Linked DNA regions of Homo sapiens: all the other regions are linked to region 1. Evidence: promoter capture Hi-C in human tissues and cell types (Jung and others, 2019). All regions are on one chromosome and are shown on one strand. Each heading gives the region's core, a stretch centred on a gene start or on the middle of the fragment in contact. The rest is flanking DNA. Distances are from core to core; before and after follow the strand shown. Region 1 holds the start of SPR (sepiapterin reductase). Region 2 overlaps SFXN5 (sideroflexin 5). Region 3 overlaps EXOC6B (exocyst complex component 6B).

Region 1 (2,688 bases), core at 84-2,583:
AGGGGTGATGGGTCAAGATTCAAGGACAAAATCCTGTGGGTTGTTTCCTGGAGGGGGCGGACTAGGCCGCTTGCCCAGCCCCCAGAGGCGCACCAGTGGGTTCTGGAGGACAGGGACGGCAGGACTTCCCACCTACCTGGGGCATAGTTCAGCACCCTCACATTAGGTTCCTCCAGCGCCAGGACCTGGAACAGCATATCACGAGCAGCCTTTCCTGCACAGTACAGCGCCCAGCCTTTGAAAGGTTGCAGGGCACAGAGGGACGAGATGTTAACCACGGTTCTGTTGAGGCCAGGACTGTCCGGGAAGGCCTTCAGGACGCTGGAAGTCAGGCAGAGCATGGAGGTCAAGTTCAGTGCCCAGTAGTTGTTCACTTGAGTGGAGTCACTCAGGTCCACGAAGCCTTTGGACACATCCCCAAGAGAGCCTGAAAAACCAACCCTTAGGAGTAACTCAGTGCAGGCGGGGCTTTCTTCTTCCCCAGCCCTCCCAAGTTCCTCCAGATATCCTCTTCCCATGCAGACCTAGAGGAGGAAGCTGCCTAGCGCTTCTGAAGAGGCTTCTCTCTTCCCCAGCTCTGCGGAAAGACACAGCTGGGGAACCTAGCCATCCCAAGCTGCAGAATGAGAAGGCACCTGCCTTGCCGTGGGGCTGAAGGAAAGCTCTAGCGGTCCTTTGGAGAAGCAGAGAGTTTACTTGTTTGGAGACTCCAAGCCCTGACTCAGGCCTCCGCCAGAGGGCGCAGAGCAAGGGGCTCGGGAAAGTTCTACAGGCGCTTTGGAAAACCCGGCTGGCCAATTTTCCAGGAAGTGGGGGCAGACTGTTGTCCCGACGGCACCGAGTCTTCCTGTACACCTCGCCTCCACTTGCTACTCAAGCTGGAACAACTAGGGCTTTAGATTTCTAGGCGTCCTATCTGACCCCTAGGAGTAGCCCTTAAATTCCCCAGCGGTGGAGGAAGTGGGCGCTCACATGGGGAGTCCGCTCCAGCCCCGGGGTCTTACCCGCGTTGTTGATAAGCAGCAGTCGCTGCAGCCCCTTGGGCCGGGGGAGCTCGCGCAGGGCGCCGAGCAGCTGCTGCAAGCCGGCCTCGGCGCCCAGGTCGGCGGGCACCCGCACCACGCGCAGGCCAGACCGCTCGGCGCCCAGCTCGGCCTCCAGCTGGCGCAGTGCCTCGTCGTTGCGGGCGCTAAGGACAAGCACGGAGCCGGGCGACAGCAGCGAGGCCAGGAGCGGGGCCAGCGTCCGGCCGAAGCCGCGGGAGGCCCCGGTCAGCAAGCACACAGCACGCCCCAGCCCGCCCTCCATGCTCCTGTTCTCCGCCGGCGGCGCTGGCACCCGAGACCAGGCAGGAGGCGGTGCGGCCGCGGGGGGCGGGACCGCTACGGGTGTCGGCGGGGCCGCCCTGCCGGGGCGGGGCGGGAACCTCAGGCTTCGGGCCGCGAGCGCCCAGGGGTGCTGGTTCCCTTGGGATCTGGTTCCCTTGGTTGCTGGTGGCGGAAGTCAAACCGTGGCGGTAGCCCAGTCCGTGCCAAGTGGGACAACAGAGAGGGCCGGCAGGCGCGGCCCACACGGAAAGCCCTAGCCCGGTTCCCAGCGCTGCCGTGTTCTTCGCCCGCAAGCTCAGCCTCCGGCTGGGACGCATGCTCGAATTTCCTCCCAGTTCCAGCCCTAACTTTGCACTACTGACCTCTTCCAGGGCAGGCCCTGCACTGGGTGCTGGGCGTCCCTGGTCGTGGCCAGTGAACACCCTGAATGAAGCTTATGCCTGTTTAGGAATTGAAGTCTCTGCTTGTTTGGGAGCTCACCGCTCTCTGGATGACAGGAGCTTCCTCTGGGAGAACCACAGTGGCTCCAAATGATATTAAAACCTTTCCCTTTTACTAGGCCCTGAGCAGCTCCGTGATCCCACCAGTAACCCCTGCTTCTCTGAGATTTCTGACTCCTGTCCCTAAAAGTGTGTTCCCCAGGATTCTGCTCCTGCTCATGCTACAGTCTCCCTGGCAGCAATTCCATCCACTTTCAGCTTCAAGTTTGCGCAATCATCTGTCTGTACCTCCAGGCAGGTGCTTCAGAAAAATCCACATTTTTTTTTTTCTAGGAGAGGAGGAACGTGAGACAAGTTGGCATGCAGCTACATATATTAAAAAGGAATCTCTTCATGGTTTCCTTCTTAGTGGCCGAGTGGTATTCCATTGTGTATATACATATGTCCAAATATTGTGTGTCAGTTTTTAAAAAACGAATCTCTTTAGAGTTTAGCAAGGGCAGTAAGTAACCTCTGATAACTTAGCCCAATTCCCCACAGGGCTGATCCCTCCCCTGGGGCTAAACAGCAAAGTTACCGCCTTTCCACTATTATTGCCAACTCTAAGGAAGAAACAACTTGGAGGAAGGCTTTTTTCTTTTCTTTTTTCTTTTTTTTGACAGAGTCTCGCTCTGTGGCCCAAACTGAAGTGCAGAGGTGTGATCACAGTTTACTGCAGCCTTGAATTCTTGGGCTCAAGCAATCCTTCCACCTCAGGCTCCTGAGTAGCTAGGATTACAGGTGCGCACCACCACGCCTGGCTAATTGTTTTTTAAGCTTTTGGTATTTTAACGCTGATAAGACTCTGTATATGTGTATACCATTTGAAGTTGCCCTGCTTTTCACTTACCTATTCACACTGAAGATAAAGATCTCATTGG
Region 2 (2,688 bases), core at 105-2,604, 170 kb before region 1:
GTCTTTATGACATTGACATATTTGATGAACAAAACCAATTAATTTATGGAATGTCTGTCAGTGTGGGTTTGTGTTGTTTTCTTGTGATTAGATTTATTTAGTCCCTTTGGAATATTATGTGAGTGATGCTGTGGACTTCTCGGGGTATCACATTTGGAAGAACACAGTGTCCCACCTGCCCTTCGTTGATCCTTTTAACATATCCCCATCATTTTTTGGGGGTAAGACTTCATTACTTCCTGGTGCAACAAAATGTACCAGTTTCATCTTGTACCCTCCCTACCCCAGCCTTTGAATCCGCTCCTTTCCTAAGGAACCCTGGTCTCTGTTAGTGGACCAGGATCTGGATGTCATTTGGTCTTTTTGCTTTTCACTTAGTATCTGTCTAGCTCTGTTTATCCCCTTGTTTATTGAGTTGGAATCACACTGCTTATATGCATTTCATAAAATTTTAAGCATTATTCCATGTCATAAATGTTTGAAAACATAGTTTTAAAGGCTGCATAGTATTCAGTCATATGAATGGACCATCATTTATTTAACCATCCACCTTTGTAAAGAATGCAGCAGTGAATATCCTTGGTATGTACACCTGACCAGATCTTTGAACATCTTGGATTGTTTCCTTAGACTACATTCTCAGAGGTGAAATTTTGCCAGGACAGCATTGTGAGCCTCCCTTATGTATGTCTTTAATGGGAAAATGGTCTGGGCTGTGTGGATTATAAGAGGTTAGAGAGGCAGCTGTTTCTGTTAGGAATGGACCAAAGCTTGATCTGGTTTGTGAGAGACAGCACCTGGGTAGGGGTGGCATTAGGGGTTAGAGGTTGCTTCATGCAGGGGTGCCATGGTGGGAGAGAAATGGAGGTGGGATGAGAACTGGTGTGTGGGGGGACTTTGAGGTGACCTGGAGCCTATTGCAGGGTCCTTATTGGGAAGGGAAAGGAACAGGAATTGGCTGCAGGGTCTGGTGTCCTACTAAATAAGGGGAGGGAATGTGGAGGCTTCTGTTTCCTCCACTGTGCAAAGGATGGTGCTTGGAGAGTTGTGGGGCTCCAGGGAGGAATTTGGGGCAGAGCCCGGAGTGTAGTGAGGCATGAACCCCAGCGATTGCAGCTTCCCCTTCATCCCCGAGCTTGGCACCCTCTGTCTTCCCCTTGAGCTCAGCTTTGCCCAGCTGGCTTAGTCCCCAGGGCAGAAGGCCCAGCAGCCGGGTTGCTTGGTTTCCTTTCATTGTGCTCCAATGCCTGTGGCTGCGCTTAGCATAAAGCCCTCCTTTTCCACGGCCCCTGCTCTGGGGCAAGGTTGGGGGAGCTGCCCCTTGTCCTGCACTTCAGCAGCTACAGGGCTGTGGGTGAAGGAGGGCCTGAGGATTGTGAGCTCAGTGCTTTTAGGCTTGAGCTGCCCTTGGGGATCCCCCCTGGAGGCAGAGCTGGACCTTGGGGAGGGACCCTGTGGCGGGTAGGCAGGATGCTTTGTCACTCAAGGTCCTGAGCAAGGCAGGGAGGCTGGGAGAGGGCTGGGGACCAGGCCTCACCTTCAGCCTACATGTCCAGGGATGCTTGGGAGCTTTTAATAGGCTCAGAATAGATCTCAGGGCACTGGGAGAGAGAGGGGAAAATGGAAGTCACCTGGAAGAGCAGATGGGCCTGTCCTTGAGTATCTCAGTGGTCTCTCTGAGTTGACTTTGGAAAACTCTCAGCCCCAGGAAAGCTGTCCTTAGATTTCTGAGGCCTCATTGGCATTTATCACCCACACGAGGAGTCCTGGGGACCGGGGGACCCCAATCATAAAGGGTGGGGCTCTCCAGTGTCTGGAGAAGGGTGTGCAGCAGCTGATCCATTCACTCTTCTCTCTCATCCTCTTCTTCAGACGTCCTTCTATGGCCGCTTCAGGCACTTCTTGGATATCATCGACCCTCGCACACTCTTTGTCACTGAGGTAAGTCATGGCTGTCACCTCAGTGGCCCTTGGGCCTTTGTACCTTGTCATTTCAGAATATGTGGGTCATTAAGGGAGGGTGAGGATGGGGGAGTGAAGAGAATAGGGGAGGTGAGAGGTGAGAGGAAGGTAACAAATTCTCTCTACCTGTAGCTGTCTGTTTATGTATCTGTGTGTCTGTCTGTATCTGAGTTGATACATTGTGCTGTATGCTTTTTACATTATATCATTTGGATCTCACAACAACCCTTTAAGATAGATATTATTGTTATTCTTTAAAACTTTCAAGAAATTATTATCAAGTACATAAGTTATTTGCTCATTAGAAAAGTTCAAACAGTACAAATATGTTTAAGTAGAAAAAAGTATCCTTTAATCGTCCTCCCTACTTAGTTCCCTCCTCTTATAGGTAACAGCTGTTAATGGCTTTTAACATCAGGTTATTAAGGTATAATTTACCTTTCTTATGTGTGCAGTTCTTTAAGTTTTGACAGCCATATTCAGTCGTGTGTCCACCATCACAGTTGTATTAGTCCGGTCTCATACTGCTATAAAGAAATTCCCGAGACTGGGTAATTAATAAAAAAAGTGGTTTAATTGTCTCACAGTTCCTCATGGCTGGGGAGGCCTTAGGAAATGATATGGTGGAAGGGGAAGCAGGCACCTTCTTCACAAGGTGGCAGGAGAGAGAGGAATGGAGGAGGAGCTTCTGAGCACTTACAAACCATCAGATCTCATGGGAACTCA
Region 3 (2,688 bases), core at 94-2,593, 130 kb after region 1:
CTAATGTTCTTGAGCCATCACTCCAAACTCAGAAATATATATCACAACTTTTTTCAGAACCATGATTAGGTTATAAATCGACTTAGCTGTCCCACATGTTGTGTGGCTGGATTTCCCTACAGACATCTATGATAATCATTTAATAGAATGCTTAATCCAGGCCAAAATAAAGTAATGAAAAATTTTGAAATACCAGGACATTTAGCATTGTCCTTTGTTCAGCTCCCTATGACTCTGCATTACAGTGTCTAGGTTTGGCATGGGACTGATGTTTATCATTATGATACAGAGTTCTTGGCTACTTTTATGTTTTACCAAATATAAATCTTTAACAGACTCCACCTGACAACCCCCGCCCCAACACAGTTAAAAACGTCCCCCTTAAAAAAAGATTTTGCCAACAAAATGTTTCTCTCCTTTGAGAGTTAACTTTGTAATTTGGAGCATATAACCATGATGTTTGAGAGCTGTCTGTTTCCATTGTTGCAGCCTGATTGTCCATGGTTTAATCATCAGTAGTTAAGAAGTAAAGCCAAAAATGGCTCCAGGCTGCTCAGTACCATAAAAAATTTCCACCTGGAAGCAATTTTTTCTAAAAGCCCGTAGGGACTGCTGTCACCCTCCCCCTTCTGTTGGCAACAAGGGCCAGAAACATCAGTTCTCTTCAGAGCCAGGTCTTGTTGCAGTTTAATCATCTTCCTTCTCCTAGCTTCCAGAGGAGGTTAGAGGAGAGCTAGGGAAATAACAAATTATTGCCAGACACTACTCTCCTCCTACAATAGATTTCCTTTAGCCATCTAAATTTCTCCTTTCTTCCTCTGTTTCTTTCTTTTTCTGTTTAACATTTTAGCTGAAGTGCAAATTATTTGCACTGCTAGAACTTGAATTAACTTTTTGGTAAAAATATTTATTATTGAACTCTAGTGCTTCTCTTTGGGGTAAGATGAAATGTTGAAACATTTTTGGGCACTGCTTTGGCTCTTTGTCACTTTATAATGCTTTCTCTGTGGGATACAGCCATTGTTCCAGGTGTAAACTCTCAAGGAACTCATGGTCTTATAGGGGAGATAGACATGTAAATAAATCATTACTGTATAGAGTGTTCACCGTAGTACCCTTTCAAAAATATGAACAAATAAACATTTCAAAGCAAAAGGACATGAACTGTGCTTTCCACCAGTAAATATCATTAGTAGTGGTGCCCATTCATTTCTAGGCCCATTATCCTAATGTAACTTCTGGATAATACTAGGCATTTGTTCAAGAACTTTGAGGCAAAACAAGATGACAGTACTCCTGGTGAAATTCACCTCAAACCACATATGGCTTCATAGGTTCAAGGCCAGTTCAAATTTATACAGTGTCAAAGTGAGAGCCAGTTGGTGAATGATTATACCATGACTGTTAAGGAGTAATTCTTATCCTATATCCTTATCATACACTCCTTATCAAGGATAGGGCTAGGTGCTTCAATAGATTTTGTTTCATTAAAAAAAATAGATTTTTAAATATATTCCTTATCGAACTAGACTATGAGCAGGCACTGTGGCTCACACTTGTAATCTCACCAGTTTGGGGGGCCAAGGTGGGAGGATCGCTTGAGCCCAGAAGTTTGAGACCAGCCTGGGCAACATAGTGAGACCCCATCTCTGCAAAAAAAAATTTTAAAAAATTAGCTGCTTGTGTTGGTGCATGCCTGTAATCCCAGCTACTTAGGAGGCGGAGGCTAGAGGGTCCCTTAAGCCCAGAAGCTAGAGGCTGTAAGTGAGCCATGATTGTGCCACTGTGCTCCAGCCTGGGCAACAGAGTGAGATACTGTCTCTAAAAAAAAAAAAAGAAAAAAAAAAGCTATTAAAAAAATGAAATACATAGAACTAGACTAATACATGCTGCAAGAGACTGTTATTGTAGATTAAATTTGGCTGGGTGTGGTGGCTCACACCCTATAACGCCAGCACTTTGGGAGGCTGAGGTGGTAGGATTGCTCGAGGCTAGGAGTTTGACAGTACCCTGGGCAATGTAGCAAGACCTCATCTCTACCAAAAAGAAAAAAAAAGAAATTGGTGTCATTTGGGAAAAGATGCCTCATATCAGCAAGTAGGAGAAAAATGGTATTGAATTTGAATCTTTAAAGAATGGACTCATGATCTTGTTTGGTATAAATTCCTCCAGAGTATGCAAGCTTAAGCTCTTCGTGGCTGCTTTGGTTTTATGAACCAAAGCAGTTTCTTGTGTTCTACCTTGTTGGTAAGAAGAGCAGCTTCTGAGCTGGGCATGGTGACTCTCACCTGTAATCCCAGTATTTTGGGAGGCCGAGGTGGGAGGATTGCTTGAGCCCAGGAGTTTGAGACCATCCCAGGCAACATAGTGAGACCTTGTCTCTACAAAAAAATGAGCTAGGCATGGTGGTGCCTGCCTGTAGTCCCAGCTACTCAGGAGGCTGAGGCAGGAGGATCGATTGAGCCTGGGACACAGAGTGAGACCCTGTCTCAAAACAAAAACAAAAACAAATCCTAAAAACTAAAAAGGTAAGGAGCTTCTGTATCAGGTTATAGTAGTTGTATTAAGGAGAGACGTTTTAGGAAAGAGTTGAGTTTTGAGCTGAACCTTGAAAGATGAGTAGGAATTTGCCAGAGAAGTGATGGTAAGGACATTGCAGGCAGAGGGAATACATGCTACACTCAAGGA

Evidence for each region. Contacts are between HindIII fragments. The study calls those that stand out against the background at their distance.
Region 2: a fragment that was not itself captured here is called in contact with the fragment with the promoter of SPR in region 1 in 1 of the 25 tissues and cell types used here (hippocampus).
Region 3: a fragment that was not itself captured here is called in contact with the fragment with the promoter of SPR in region 1 in 1 of the 25 tissues and cell types used here (IMR-90 fibroblasts).

What each region holds. Positions count from the first base shown.
Region 1 is chr2:72,886,053-72,888,740 of GRCh38, reverse strand. SPR (sepiapterin reductase) reads right to left here and starts at 1,333. Exons shown (of 3, transcript NM_003124.5): 1 at 1,005-1,333; 2 at 137-427. The coding sequence starts at 1,308. RefSeq lists silencers at 279-453, 1,092-1,481. The HindIII fragment of the contact is 16,003 bases long and covers 1-2,173 here.
Region 2 is chr2:73,057,781-73,060,468 of GRCh38, reverse strand. It overlaps SFXN5 (sideroflexin 5), which reads left to right. Exons shown (of 14, transcript NM_144579.3): 2 at 1,873-1,941. Among named protein-coding and RNA genes, the nearest start is that of SFXN5, 13 kb to the left of the region's middle. RefSeq lists an enhancer at 1,278-1,778. The HindIII fragment of the contact is 4,366 bases long and covers 1-2,688 here.
Region 3 is chr2:72,753,765-72,756,452 of GRCh38, reverse strand. All of the region lies in intron 1 of EXOC6B (exocyst complex component 6B), which reads left to right. Among named protein-coding and RNA genes, the nearest start is that of EXOC6B, 71 kb to the left of the region's middle. The HindIII fragment of the contact is 3,950 bases long and covers 1-2,688 here.